Linked DNA regions of Homo sapiens: regions 1, 3, 4 and 5 are each linked to region 2. Evidence: promoter capture Hi-C in 16 types of primary human blood cells and fetal thymus (Javierre and others, 2016). All regions are on one chromosome and are shown on one strand. The core of a region is centred on a gene start or on the middle of the fragment in contact, and the rest is flanking DNA. Distances in the headings are between cores, read along the strand shown. Region 1 overlaps LOC101929452 (a long non-coding RNA gene). Region 2 holds the start of NRIR (negative regulator of interferon response). Region 3 overlaps RNF144A (ring finger protein 144A). Region 4 has its middle 130 kb from the start of GRASLND. Region 5 overlaps RNF144A (ring finger protein 144A).

Region 1 (2,763 bases), core at 214-2,713, 230 kb before region 2:
GCTTGTTATAATCTTTACTTTTCACTGAAATAACAACGGTTATTTAACACAGTCAATGGCCAGGCATCGGGTTCCTCCACTTGCATAGGCTAAGATTGCCAGACATGAAGACACCTCATTATCTCCAGGGGTGACTTTGAGTTAACTTAAAAAATGATTCATTCCTTATTACCCATTCCTTAGGACTTTCTACTGCCCTCTTTCAGAAAATTATCATATATGTGTAAATCTATGATAAATATGAATATGAATCACATGTTCTGACCTCATGTTGGCCTTCATACAAATATGAACATCACATCATTTCTGCCCTCCAGAGCCAATACTCAATTCCGGGGAGTGATAGACACATTTGTAATCCTGCATCAGAAAGTACAAAGCGGAGTGGTTTCCCAACAGCCAAACGTGGGGTGAGGAGGAGACTGAGAAAGGCTTCCCACAGGGGCTACTGCATGAGCTGGGTCTTGAAGGAGGAGTAGACCTTCCCAGGGATGGAGACAGGGTGGATCCCTAGGAAAGGAAACAAGCCAGGTAAGGGCCTGAGTGGCGACAGGGTTCTTTGGGGAACTCAAAGTTGTCCGGTACGGCCAGGGTAGATGGGGTGGATCATAGACAGGTGAGGCTGGAGAAGTGGTGTAGAGTTCCAAGGAGTCTCATGGTATGTATGGGACAGAGTGAAGTTCAAGGACAGGAAGGACAGGAAGCCATGAGGAGTGTAAGGCTGCAGATTCCAGATCAGATGCTAGTTCATTCTGGCCCATGACCCTGGCTTCAGCTCAGCCCATTTGAGGTAAACACTTGGATTCCAGTCAAGGAAATGCCTTTCTGGTCTTTCTGATTTTCTAGATTTTCTAGAATGTCTTCAAAATCCTGATCAATGAGCACATGTCCCAAAGTTGGTTCATGCATTCATTCACTCATTCCACAAATATCTATTGTTTGCTTTGTACCTGACACCACTAAGCTCTAAGACTCAGTGATGGAGACGTTGCCATTGCCTTCAAACAGACACTAACTGGGGCGAGACAGGTAAATAAATCAGTAATATTCTGTGGCAGGATAAGTGAGAAAATAAAACAATATGCTCTGAAAAATGGAATGGGGTAGGAAGAGGAGAGACAGATGGCAGAAAAATTGAAGGAGGCCTTTTATAGAAGTGCATCCATTTCCTGAGGTTCCTGTGGGATTCTACAAGCCTGACAGGCAGTTCTTGATCAAGCTCTGGCTTCTCTTTGCTTAACAGTTCTTCCCTCCATTCATCTGTAAGCAGCAAAGAGAAACCAGGCCATACCTTCCACACTTTGCTTTGAAATTTCCTCTGTTAAACATCTGAGTCCATTGTTTACAAGTTCTACTTTCCACACACAGAAGGATGTGATTGAGCTAACCCTTCTGCCATTCTATAGCAAAAATCATCTGTGCCCTCACTAGTAGCACCTGTAGCTTCCAAAGTCTACCAACACTCTGCTCAAGGCAATCTGGGCTTTGTCTAGCATGTGGCTAAACATTTACCCAGCCTCTGCTCATTGCCCAATGCCAAAGCTACTTCCCCATTTTTAGGCATTTGTTACAGCAGCATCGAGCTACTATCATCCTACTTCCTACTGTCACTGAGCAGAATGACATGACAAAAAAGTCAGTAGGAACTGGCTTAGGCAACGTGGGGGATTGCCTAGGCAAATCCAAAATCCTTAGGGTGGGCTGGAGCCTGTCGAGTAGGAGCAGACACTGGAGTTCCAGGAGGAATTTCTTCCTTAGGAGAACTTCCCCTCTTTCTTCTTTTAAGGCCTTCAAGTGAAGTGGACCAAGCCTACCCAGAATATCAAAGATGGTCTTCTTCATTTAAAGCAAACTGGTGGTAAATGTTAAATCACATCTACAAAATAGCTACAGAGCAACACCTAGATGACTGTTTTGTTGAGTGACTGGAGACCCTAGCCTCGCCACATTGACATACAACACTATCACCAGAAGGGAATCCATTCAGCATCCCAAACCTTAAGAAGCACAGTGTAGGGAGGAGATTTATCTTGTAATTAGTAAATGCCAGGCCTCCTTCTTATACTTTACCCACAATGGTATTTACCTGTAATCATCACACAAATGTGATCACATAGGTGCTGCAATGAAACTGGAATTGAGAAATTGAGCCAAATGTAAATAACTCAGGCCAAGTCACACGGCTGGGAAGTAGTGAGGCTGTGATGTGAAATTACACTGTCTGACTACAATGTTTTTGCCCTAAGACCTTGTCCAAAGAAGGAGCGTGCTGCTGGCCCATGCTTTGTCCCTGACCATCAAGCACATAAGGAACTCTGCAGTGCCTCCCATGCTAGGGAAATCCAAGCCACTGCCCATTGCGTTTCTGCCTAACCACACATCTGCAGCTGGCTCTGTGTCAGTTTCCCAGGGCTTCTGTAAAAAAGTCACAGCAAAGGCCAGGCACGGTGGCTCATGCCTGTAATCCCTGCACTTTGGGAGGCCGAGGAGGGTGGAGCACATGAGGTCAGGAGTTCGAGGCCAGCCTGGCCAACATGGTGAAACTCTGTCTCTACTAAAAATACAAAAAATTAGCCTGGCATGGTGGCACGCTCCTGTAATCCCAGCTACTTGGGAGGCTGAGGCAGGAGAATCGCTTGAACCTGGGAGATGGAGGTTGTAGTGATCTGAGATCATGCCACTGCACTCCAACTTGGGTGACAGAGTGAGACTCCATCTCAAAAAAAAAAAAAAAAAAAACTCAGCAAAGCAATCTCAAAACAA
Region 2 (2,700 bases), core at 90-2,589:
GCAAAGGACACCAGAAGGGGATGGATGAAATAGCTGAAGGAAATAGGCTAGCAGACCAAACAGCTAAGTCAGCAGTAAGAAGACCCCAAAGTCCCAGCACACTTGAAGGCTGTCTAATTTGGGAGGGCTCCATAAGGGAAATAAAGCCTCAGTATTCTCCTGCAGAGATAGAATGGGCCACCTCTCGAGGATACACTTTTCAGCCCTCAGGATGGTTACAATCAGAGGATGGCAAATGTTATTTGTCAGTCTCCAGTCAGTGGAAAGTTCTTAAGATCCTTCACCAAACTTTTCACTTGGGAAAGAATAAAACTCATCAAATAGCCCAGAGGTTGTTCTCAGGTAAATATCTACCAAAAACAGTCAAACAAATTGTTAATGCTTATAAGATCTGCCTCAAAAACAATCCCCTCAACAAATGGCATCTCCCCATCCCCAGCAACACAAAGAATGGGAAACTGCCCAGGGGAGGACTGGCAAATGGATTTTACCCATTTTCCAAAGATAAGGGGAATTCAGCACCTCTTGTTGTGGGTGGATGCCTTCACTAGCTGGGTAGAGGCATTTCTATGTCAAACAGAAAGTCCTCTAAGGTGATAAAAGCATTAGTCAATGAAATAATTCCTCGTTTTGGACTCCCTAAATACCTCCAAAGTGACAATGGCCCCTCATTTAAGGCAGCTGTTACCCAAGGGGTCTCAAAAGCACTGAGCATACAATACCATCTTCATTGTGCTTGAAGACTGCAGTCTTCAGGGAAGGTGGAGAAAACAAATGATATCATTAAGAGACACCTCAGGAAGTGGTCTCAAGAAACTCACCTCCTCTAAACTGCTTATCTTCCTATAGCCTTAGTGCAGGTGAGGAGCACCCCTTCAAATTTGGGGTTGAAGGGGTGTTCCTTCACCCTTTTGAAATGGTATATGGACGGCCTTTCCTTACCAATGATTTTATATTACATCAGAGAACTTCTGAATTGGTTAAACATGTAACCTCCCTGGCCCAGTTCTAGCAGGAATTAAAACAGTTATCAGAATTCCAACCCCAAGAACTAGGGCCACCTCTGTTCTACCAAGGAGACTTGGTACTGGTGAAGGATTTTTCCTCTCTTTTCCCCTCTCTAGGTCCCAGCTGGGAGGAACCTTATACCATCCTTCTCTCCACCTGCTCGGCAGTGAAGTTTGTGGGACTGGAATCTTGGATTCATCACACTCGAGTCAAGGCCTGGAATGACCCCTGACATCCCAGAAGAACATCTCAGATATCAGTGTGAAAAGTCTGGGGATTTCAAACTGAAAATCCAAAAGATAAGTAAATGAGTGGGAACTCTCTGTTCAGTTCAATCCCACCCTTCCTTACCAGATACTAAAGTCATTTCTACCTTTCCTCTTGAGATTTGCTGTTAGATATTAGAACTTCTCTTTGTCACATACTTACAGGGAGATTTTGATTATCCATGGGATTCCATTCATAACCTCATAAACCACCCCCACGAAGAAATTATATATCTCGGTGAGTAAGATTTAAAGTGGAACTTTATTACTTCACACATATGGGAATTGTTGTACTCACCTTGCTCTTTGCAGTAGGACTGCATACTGTGGCACCTTCTAAGTGGAATATTGGGAAAAGAGTCTCAATTGCCATAATCTTTTGCTTAGTTATTATTCATATAGCAGGGATAGTAGTCACAGGCAAGAGATAAACATGAAGATTTTGTTACTATCAAGTTTACTAGCATTCACTGTTAGATGTAGCAATGCCTCACATTCTTTGGCTCCTACAATATCAGATATTACCGATCTCTACAACAAGACTGATTACTGGGTTTGCCCTGAACAATTTACTCAGTTTAATAACACCAATGGACTCTTTGATGATTCAGAACTCACTATCTTAGGGTTTCCCTCTGATGGCTTTACCTTAAATCATTAAGGACCTAATAGGTATAAAGGGAACATGGTATGGGAGCATTTTTAACTCCACCCAGAAAGACACACCTCCTGATGGTAAAACTCACACCCTTAGACTAGGTGAAGTTGATAGAATGATAGCCAATGCCTGTCTCTGCTTTAAGAGTAAAGGAAAAGGACCATACTCGGGAAACCTTAAATAATTGCAACAGTATGCTTGTAATTGCTGAGAGCACAGAGATCTGGAGACTAAGAAGGAACAAGGGTGACACCAAACATTGGGAGAGACTGTGGAAAAATTTTAACAATCTAGCCAGACCTCCCAGGTGGAGTTCCCAATGGGAATGTCTACCCCGGGCAGAAATGCCACCCCTCGCCAACCTTATTATCAGGTAATAAATAGCACATGGTCCTTCCCAAACATGCCCACACATGGAATCCTGGACCCTTGTATGATATTTGATAATGACAGTGATCTGCAGATTTGTGAATGAACAGGGGATGTCTGGGCCAATAGCCGCTGTAAGGAGGGTTGTCTAAGATACTGGCTGGAACATATTGCGTCTCTGATCTTTCAAAACTATATTTGCCAAACAGATTCTTCCCTCCCAGCATGTAAAGTTCCAAACAATACTGTGGATGACTATACTAAGTATGGATATCCTTATTCTAAAGATGCTTGAATTAGATGTAGGGAAGGCAACCTTATAAGGCCTGGACTAAACTTAGCTGGAACCCTCATAAATCACAACATAGAACCATCCCTTCAGGGAACAGGGCTTTACTT
Region 3 (2,700 bases), core at 143-2,642, 180 kb before region 2:
TAACCAAAAACAACAACAACAACAAACCCTCCAATACAAAAAATAGCTTAGTGTCTTCTCAGTTATAAATGGCAGCTGACAGGCAGCCTCAGTTCCAGGGGACAAGGAGTAGTGAGGACTGTGGGGCTTTGGCCCAGGAGGCGCCTCCAGCAAGAGCTGGGGCTCTGCTACGCTGGCTGCCAGCATGGGGAGGCAGCCTCGGAGAGGCTTAGGATTCGGATTTCCCAGAGAAGCCAGAAATTCCAGTTTTTATGTGACATCTTCTGATTTAAAAATTTCCACAAAATGAGATTTCTGAATTTTGATTTAGATCATCTTTGGACAATAATTTAAATGAGACTAGAATGTCACAGATAAAGAAAACTAAGTCATCAGGCTCCAAACACTCACCAGCCTCCATCTAAAGTTTTGAAGCCCCTAAGATGCCAAGTACACGTGAAGTATAAGTACAAGTGGTTCGTGCTTGCAGCTGCCTGCCTGATGCAGGCTGCTCAGAAAGGCCCAGGCCCTGTGTGTCAGGAGCTCATCCTGATGGCAGAATCGGCCTTGTCAACGCAAGAACTCAAATCCAATATGTCCAGGGTTGTAATCAATGCAGAGAATCTCAGGGGGAACACAGAGGGTGGAGGCCCCAACCCTGTCCTCGGAACCATGAAGCTTGACAAAGGGATGTGATCCCCACCTGAAGTGTGGCAGGAGCCCCCAGGGAAAGGAGGAGGGCAGAGCAGGGCACTCCAGACACGGGAAGAGAGGTTCGCCCGGAAGGAGACCAGGGGTGTGTGGCAGGGACCCTGAGAGGGTCGGGGGCTAGAACAGGGCACAGGGGTCACACGGAAAGGAACAGGAGCTGGGGACGGTGGAATGGGAAAAGGGGCGCACAGGGAGCAGCTGGTGAGCACACCCTGGGGAGGGTGGTGGGTAGAGTGGCAGCTCCTCTATGAGGATCCTGGACTCAACAGGAGCAGGGGCAAGTGTCCAGCAGAACCACGTGACCTTGTAGATTTTGTAGGAGAAAAAGACCTGGATATGATGAATTTCCTATGCATCAACCTACGAAATGTCAAAGTACAGAGCGTGGTGCGGCAGCATTCTCCTGGGCAAACAGCCCGACTATGGCTGCAGGGGAGGCCGCCACCAGGGAGTGTCTCCCCATCCCCCTCCAGACAGTATTTATGACCAGTGCACCCTACTCCTGTTCTTGTTTCTGTACCCCCATTTCAGATCACCTTCAACACAGTGAAGTCTTGCAGAAACTTCAGGTACTGCAGGACTTGCAACCTTTAAAAGTAACAAACCACGCATGCATTTGTCATTCCAGCCAAGCCGTGTTAAGTGTGGTTCTCACACACCTTTCTATTTCCAGGGCCTCACACAGTGCCTGGTACATAGTCAGTTCTCAAAAATAAATAGACATACAAATAATGACAGGCTTGAGTGAGGCTCAAGAGGTACAGTGTGTGTTAGGGTTGACTGAGCCACAGCCACTTACACTGTAACAGCACTTTTAGGAAGAAAGCATGCCTGCTTCTCCTGGCCCACAGCCATGCCTTTGGTGGCAGCTTGTGTACAAAGGGTACCTGGTCTCCCCGGGGAGGAAGGTGATCGGCATGGTCTCCGGGCAGCCCTGGCCAGGGTGCCAGCTGGCTTTGCAGGTGGAGCAGAATTCCATACGGCAGGCTTTGCACTGCACTGGCTGGGGGGTCTGCAGCCCCACGTCCTGGAGCTGACACACAGCTTGGCAGGTGGACGCCGGGCACCAAGTCCGACAGGGATCAAACAGCACCTCTGGTACAGTGAGACAAAATGGACAAATCAAACTTAAGCCAGAGGGTCATGTGGGCTTCAGAGGAAGGAGCCCCTCAGTGCACGGACAGGGAGGAACATGTCCAGGTAATACAGCCAGCACCACCAGCCCCAACCGAAGCACCGCCCAAGCCACCCTTCCACCTCCACCTCCGCTGTAGCTCTTCCCAACTTCTCCCTTCATGCAACAGACCTCCAGACACCCAGACATCCCTCAGGAATGCTGCTCCTGCCCCTGGAATGCCCTTGGAGCCCTGGGTCAGCCCTGCTTGCCTCTGACACTCAGCTCACAGCTCAAAGGCCTCCACATCCTGGAAAGCTTGGCCCACCTGCCTGTCGGGTTTCTCTGAGCAATGCACATGGCGCTAGCTCATCTGCCTCCCCTAGGGGACAGTTTTCTGAAGCTGGACCCCTGATGGCCCCATGTTGGGCATACAGCCAGCACCAGGAAAATGCTGCTAGAAGACCGAGAGGAAGAGGGAAGGAAGATGGCTGGATTGTTCTTCTAACCAAATGGTTCACCTGCCTAAGATGGCCTCCCCTTCTCAAATCCAAGCCACGAGTTAACTACGGAGTGAAACCAATCCTTCAAGGGCCAGATTTTCTCTCCAAATCACAGCACACATTTCTAAGAAGCCCAATTTAATGGAATTAGCCACAAAGTTTATTTCTAAAAACAAGACACTTTGACACATCTATTTCTTCACATCCTTGTCCAAAAATTGCATTTCTTTAAATTATTGGCTGCCCTTTGTAGGAAGACTGGTTGTTCATTTCATCTTCCCTCTTGTCCAGCATGATGCCGAATTCTCGATCAGTGGCCACCCCAGGGAGCAGCAAGGCTCTGCCAGAAAGCTCTCCCAGGCCAGTGCAATGTGGGCTATTTCCAAAGGCGTT
Region 4 (2,700 bases), core at 185-2,684, 210 kb before region 2:
GTTTCTCATCATCTCAGCCTTTTCTCATGTTTGCCACGGCCAGCGTTTTGTTTTTTTTCTGGTTCAGAATCAAGGTGAGGTGATGCCAAGGTATAAACCACCTGCTTTCTGAGTGACACCACGGACTGTTAACTTATGAGTTCCTCTCTCCAGGGCACAGCTACAGAGGCAATAGGGCATTTTGGAGGTATTTATGTTACTTCCAATTAGGCATTCTAATTAAGATGGACTAAGGGAGGAGTAATATGAGTGAGAATTGGGCATACCTGGGTGAGGGTGTCCTTGGGTTATTCTGAATACTGGGGGATTCATTGATACTCTTGGAAGTCAGCACTAAGCTCAGGAAGATCCCATGAGGTTGAAGCAGCCAGACCAGACCGGAGTGGAGCAGCCAGGGCAGAACATCTTCATCTGGGAGCCACACTCTTGGATTCAAGCGATTCTCCTGCCTCAGCCTCCCAAGTAGCTGGGATTACAGGCACCCACCGCCATGCCCAGCTAATTTTTGTATCTTTAGTAGAGATGACATTTCACCATGTTGGCCAGGCTGGTCTCAAACTCCTGATCTCAGGTCATCCACCCGCCTTGGCCTCCCAAAGTGCTGGGATTACAGGCGTGAGCCACTGTGCCTGCCCTCAACTGTCTTTTTACTGATACTTGTTACTTTCCACTCCACAGGCTGGGCATAGACCCCCATCTCCTCTTCGCTGCTCCTTTTGGCGGCTTCCTAACCTCATGTCCTGGCCCTCATCCTCTGCATCCAAGCTCCCCTACATGCAGCTACCGTGGCGTAGGCAAATCCCATATCTTATTGTGTCAGCACCAACCTTAACCTGAAATCCTCCAGCCTGGCTTAAACCTTAAAAAGTGCATCCCCTCTGTCCCTTACCGCTCTACCCCGTCCACCTGCTCCACCTCCAATCCCCTCACCCTACTGGAGCTCAGCTCTGCACTGAAGGTTTGCCAAGCTCTCTTGGGGCGTCTGCGGCTTTACTTGCATGGGTGTGTTTGTGTGGTGGCATTCCCTCCCAATCTGTGCTCTGAGCAACCCCCTGCTCTCTCCATCCCCGACCCCAATTCCGTCTCCTCCAGAAATTTGCTCTGACTTCTCCTGCAGGGGGTGGAGCTCCTCTCTGCTACCACCTGTGGAGTGTGATCATCACCTTCCGGCCTGCCGCACTAGACTGTGATGTCTCCGTGCATTTGCATTGGTCTGTGTGGTGTGGTACCAAGGCACTGATGAAGAAAAGGGAGGATCTAAACTTCAGTCCAAGCCCTGCCAGGAACTAGCTTCAAGACTGCACCCGAGGCATTCTGCCTCACTGAGCTTCTCCTTGTTTATAAATATAGACGGGGTCTGAGTGGTCCTGACAGCACTGGGATTCCAGCACTTCCTCCCTTGGGAGCTCCCGTTCCCTTCGACATTCCCCTCCAATGCTGGTATACAGAGTCCTAAGTCTTCCCCATGGAGGCCAGTGAGGGAGCCAAGAATCTGCTTGTCTTTCAAAAGACTGTTGCTCTCCATTCCCTTAAAGGTATATGAGAGAATTTATGCTACTGAAATATAGGCAACGGTGAAGAATTTGGATTTAACGACACAGGAAGCAGAAGGCTCTCAATGGTTTTCAACAGAAGCATCACAAGATGGAAACAGAGAATGCCCCAGGAACAGAATGGTGAGAAGGGAGGAGGCTGGGAGCAGAAGATACTTTAGGAGGCCCCAGGTGTGTCCACGAGAGACTGAAGAGGACCTGCATTAGTCTGTTCTCACTCTGCTAATAAAGACATACCCAAGGCTGAGGCATTTATAAGGAAAAAAGGTTTAACTGACTCACAGTTCCACATGGCTGGGGAGGACCCACAATCATGGCAGAAGGTGAAGGAGGAGCAAAGTCATGTCTTACTTGGCGGCAGGCAAGAGAGCTTGCGTAGGGGAACTCCCATTTATAAAACCATAAGATCTCCTGAGACTTATTCACTACCACGAGAACAATATGGGGAAACCACCACCATGGTTCAATTATCTCCACCTGGCGCCACCCTGGACGTGTGGGGATTGTTATAATTCAAAGTGAGATTTGGGTGGGGACACAGCCAAACCATATCAGGACCCGAACTGAGGACAGGGAACCAGGTCCTACTCACTCGTGAATTCATCTCCTGGGAAAGGCAAACAGTTCTTCCTTCAAAGTCATGACCAGCTTCCAACGTGCAACCAAATGAAACTTGGTATCGAATGCATTTTCGACTGAAAAAGCCGAGGAGATTGTGCTTTTTCTTATGACTTTCATCACACATCCTGCCCCTGGCGTTTCCAAAAGCCGTTGCATTTGGACTGCTTTCCCTCCTAAGCCTGTGTTAGCCTCGCCTTCTGAGCTTCCCACAGTACACATTTTTTGCAGGTGCATTTGCTTGTATTTGCAAGACAGAAGCTCACTTTGTTGGAACTTTCTTTCCTCGGTCCCTCTTCATCGTCTTCATCTCCTAATTGGTGTTTGTAATAACTCCCAGCTTAGTATCATCTGCAAGTTTCATTAATATGTTGATTCCTCCTTTGTCATTAATAAAAACATTAAATTATTATTTAACATTCATTGTGCACCAACAATGTATTAAGAGTTGTGCAGAAATGAGAAAAAGATCCACTCTGACTGCAACCTCATTTTCGTGTCGTTGAAAACTCAAATCGCTGAGCACAGT
Region 5 (2,700 bases), core at 22-2,521, 160 kb before region 2:
ATCCCAACCTTGATAACCCAAGGAAGGCCCAGAGTGGCCACATGGCAGGTGGCAAAGCATGCTGCCCTCTCGCAGGCTTTGCTCACATACAGCTAGTCTGGAGCCCTCTAGTCCTTGCCAGTTACAGTCATGAGTTGTCCAAGAAGAGAATACATTCTGAACAATGTATCCTTAGAGGATTCTGTCACTGTGCAAACATTATAGAATGTAGTAACATATACCTAGGTGGCATAGCCTACTACACACCTAGGCTAGCTGGCACAGCCTATTGCTCTGGGCTACAAACCTGTACAGGGTGCTGTGCCACTGTACTGAATACCGTAGGCAATTACAAGTATTTTCGCATATTAACGACAATACTAAGTATTTGCACATCTAAATTTCTAAACATAGAAGAGGTTTAAAATATGCTATAAAAGATGTAAAAAATCATATACTTATACAGGGCGCTTACCATGAATAGAGCTCACAGGACTGGGAGCTACTCCGGGTGAGTGAGTGGTGAGTGAATGTGAAGGCCCAGCCATTACTGCTGCTACAGACTTTATAAACACTCTATACTTCAGCTACACTCAATTCAGATAAAAACTCCATTCTTCAATAAGTTAACCTTAGCTTCCTGTAACTTTTTTACTTTGTAAACTTTTTCATTTTCTCAACTTTTTTATTCTCATAACATTTAGCCTAAAATACGAACACAGCTGTACAAATATATATATGTGTATATATACGTACAAATATATACATAGTACAAATACATGTGTGTGTATATATGTATTTAATATCCTTATTCTGTAAGCTTTACTCTATTTGTAAATTTTTTTATTTTTTTTAAACTTTTTTTGTTAAAAACTAAGACACAAACACATTAGCCTAGACCTACACAGGGTCAGGATCATCCATGTCACTGGCTTCCACCTCCACATCTTCTCCCACTAGAAGTTCTTCAGGGGCAGTAACACCATGGAGCTGTCATCTCATATGAGATTAACAACAATGCCTTCTTCTGATGCCTCCTAAAGGACCTGCCTCAGGCTGTTCCACACCTCTCTTATTTTTTCATAAGTAGTAGTACACTCTAAAATAACGATAAAAAAGTACAGAATAGTAAATACTAGGCAGAATGCATTTTTCAGCTCCTGTAATCTTATGGGATCACCATTATATATATGGTCTATCATTAGCAAAACATGGTGATGAGGCGCATGACTGTATGTCTCTGCTGAGCTTTAGACTAGTAGAAACCTTAGCAAAGTCCTCTCAATCTGGACCCATCATGCCCCAACACCCTCTTTCCTTCGCTGGTCCCACCATGGTGGCTCTATCCGTTCATGCTTTCTCAAGGAAATAGTTCAAATGCCCCTGAAGCCTTCCTGAGTACTTCTGGCAGAATTCACTGTTCTCTCTGTGCTGTAACCCACTATCCACACTGCAAATCTAGCCCTTCAAGCCCCAAATGATCGCAGCCCACACCTGCATCTAATGCTGAGCAAGGGATCAGAGGGGGCAGGGATTATGTCTTACCTACGTACCCAGGGCATCTGGCACAAGCCAGGTGTTCAAAAATGTTTGAAAAATTAAATAAATATCCGCTATGTGCACAAAAAAGCACCCACTATGTGCAGTACACATAATGCAAAGGGACATAAAGACGTGCAAAGGAAGACCATGCCCCAAATCAGCTTAATTTCTAGGTGAGGAAATGCCACTTATTTCCTAATATGTTACACAATCAGAAGCTTAGGGTTTACACGTAGCTTTTCTGCAGCATACCAGGTCAATGATCTTGCAAATATATAGGAAAAAAAGGAAATAATATCGTATTACTTATCACCAGGCATGCTACTGCTCAATACTTTATACCCATTGCCCCATTTAATTTGTTCATGAGGTTGATCATATTTTAGAGATGAATAAACTAAGGCTCAGAGAAGTTAGGATGCTTGCTAAAAATCACACAGTTAGCAGGTAGCAGAGGCAGAACAGAGATCTGAACCTATATCCCACAGCAATGTTCAGCCACGCAACTCAACCAACCATCTAGTTCTGACTTTTTATTTAAACCACTAAGAGTCACTTTTATTATAGTTATGCATTGCACGGGAAAGATTCTGTCTATTAAATGTTACGTTTTTGTTTTGTTTTGTTTCTGAGACAGGGTCTTGCTCTGCTGCCCAGGCTGGAGTGCAGTGGTGTAATCATGGCTCACTGCGGCCTCGACCTCCTGGGCTCAAGCAGTCTTCCTGCTTCAGCTTCCTGAGTAGCTGGGGCCACAGGTGTCTGTCACCACGCCCAGCTAATTTTTTTATTTTTTGTAGAGACAAGGTCTCACTATGTTGCCCAGGATTGTCTCAAACTCCTGAGCTCAAACAGTCCTCCCACCTCGGCCTCCCAAAATGCTGGGATTACAGGCAGGAGACACTGTGCCTGGGCAAAAAGTTACACTTTTATTTTTTTATTTATTTTAATTTTATTTTATTTTATTTATTGAGATGGAGTTTCACTTTTGTTTGTTTATTTATTTATTGAGATGGAGTTTCACTTTTGTTGCCCAGGCTGGAGTGCAATGGCGCGATCTCAGCTCACTGCAACCTCCACCTCCCGGGTTCAAGTGATTCTCCTGCCTCAGCCTCCTGAGTAGCTGGGATTACAGGCACACGCCACCACGCCCAGATACTTTTTGTATTTTTAGTAGAGACG

The links. The method cuts DNA at HindIII sites, captures the fragments that hold promoters and counts their contacts. A CHiCAGO score of 5 or more calls a contact.
Region 1: a fragment that was not itself captured here is called in contact with the fragment with the promoter of NRIR in region 2 in 2 of 17 cell types (activated CD4 T cells and erythroblasts); the score reaches 6.1 in activated CD4 T cells.
Region 3: a fragment that was not itself captured here is called in contact with the fragment with the promoter of NRIR in region 2 in 2 of 17 cell types (non-activated CD4 T cells and activated CD4 T cells); the score reaches 7.5 in non-activated CD4 T cells.
Region 4: a fragment that was not itself captured here is called in contact with the fragment with the promoter of NRIR in region 2 in 6 of 17 cell types (activated CD4 T cells, non-activated CD4 T cells, naive CD8 T cells and 3 more); the score reaches 12.8 in activated CD4 T cells.
Region 5: a fragment that was not itself captured here is called in contact with the fragment with the promoter of NRIR in region 2 in 1 of 17 cell types (activated CD4 T cells); the score reaches 5.8 in activated CD4 T cells.

The regions. Positions count from the first base shown.
Region 1 is chr2:7,070,909-7,073,671 of GRCh38, reverse strand. The region is part of intron 2 of LOC101929452 (a long non-coding RNA gene); the gene reads left to right. It also overlaps a transcript of RNF144A not described here. Among named protein-coding and RNA genes, the nearest start is that of GRASLND, 150 kb to the right of the region's middle. The HindIII fragment of the contact is 4,886 bases long and covers 1-2,763 here.
Region 2 is chr2:6,839,103-6,841,802 of GRCh38, reverse strand. It overlaps NRIR (negative regulator of interferon response), which reads left to right and starts at 1,339. Exons shown (of 4, transcript NR_126359.1): 1 at 1,339-1,512. It also overlaps a transcript of CMPK2 not described here. The HindIII fragment of the contact is 12,024 bases long and covers 1-2,700 here.
Region 3 is chr2:7,019,558-7,022,257 of GRCh38, reverse strand. It overlaps RNF144A (ring finger protein 144A), which reads right to left. Exons shown (of 9, transcript NM_014746.6): 6 at 1,578-1,785. Among named protein-coding and RNA genes, the nearest start is that of GRASLND, 100 kb to the right of the region's middle. The HindIII fragment of the contact is 1,465 bases long and covers 660-2,124 here.
Region 4 is chr2:7,049,542-7,052,241 of GRCh38, reverse strand. It overlaps a transcript of RNF144A not described here. Among named protein-coding and RNA genes, the nearest start is that of GRASLND, 130 kb to the right of the region's middle. The HindIII fragment of the contact is 7,501 bases long and covers 1-2,700 here.
Region 5 is chr2:7,001,128-7,003,827 of GRCh38, reverse strand. The region is part of intron 3 of RNF144A (ring finger protein 144A); the gene reads right to left. Among named protein-coding and RNA genes, the nearest start is that of GRASLND, 84 kb to the right of the region's middle. The HindIII fragment of the contact is 940 bases long and covers 802-1,741 here.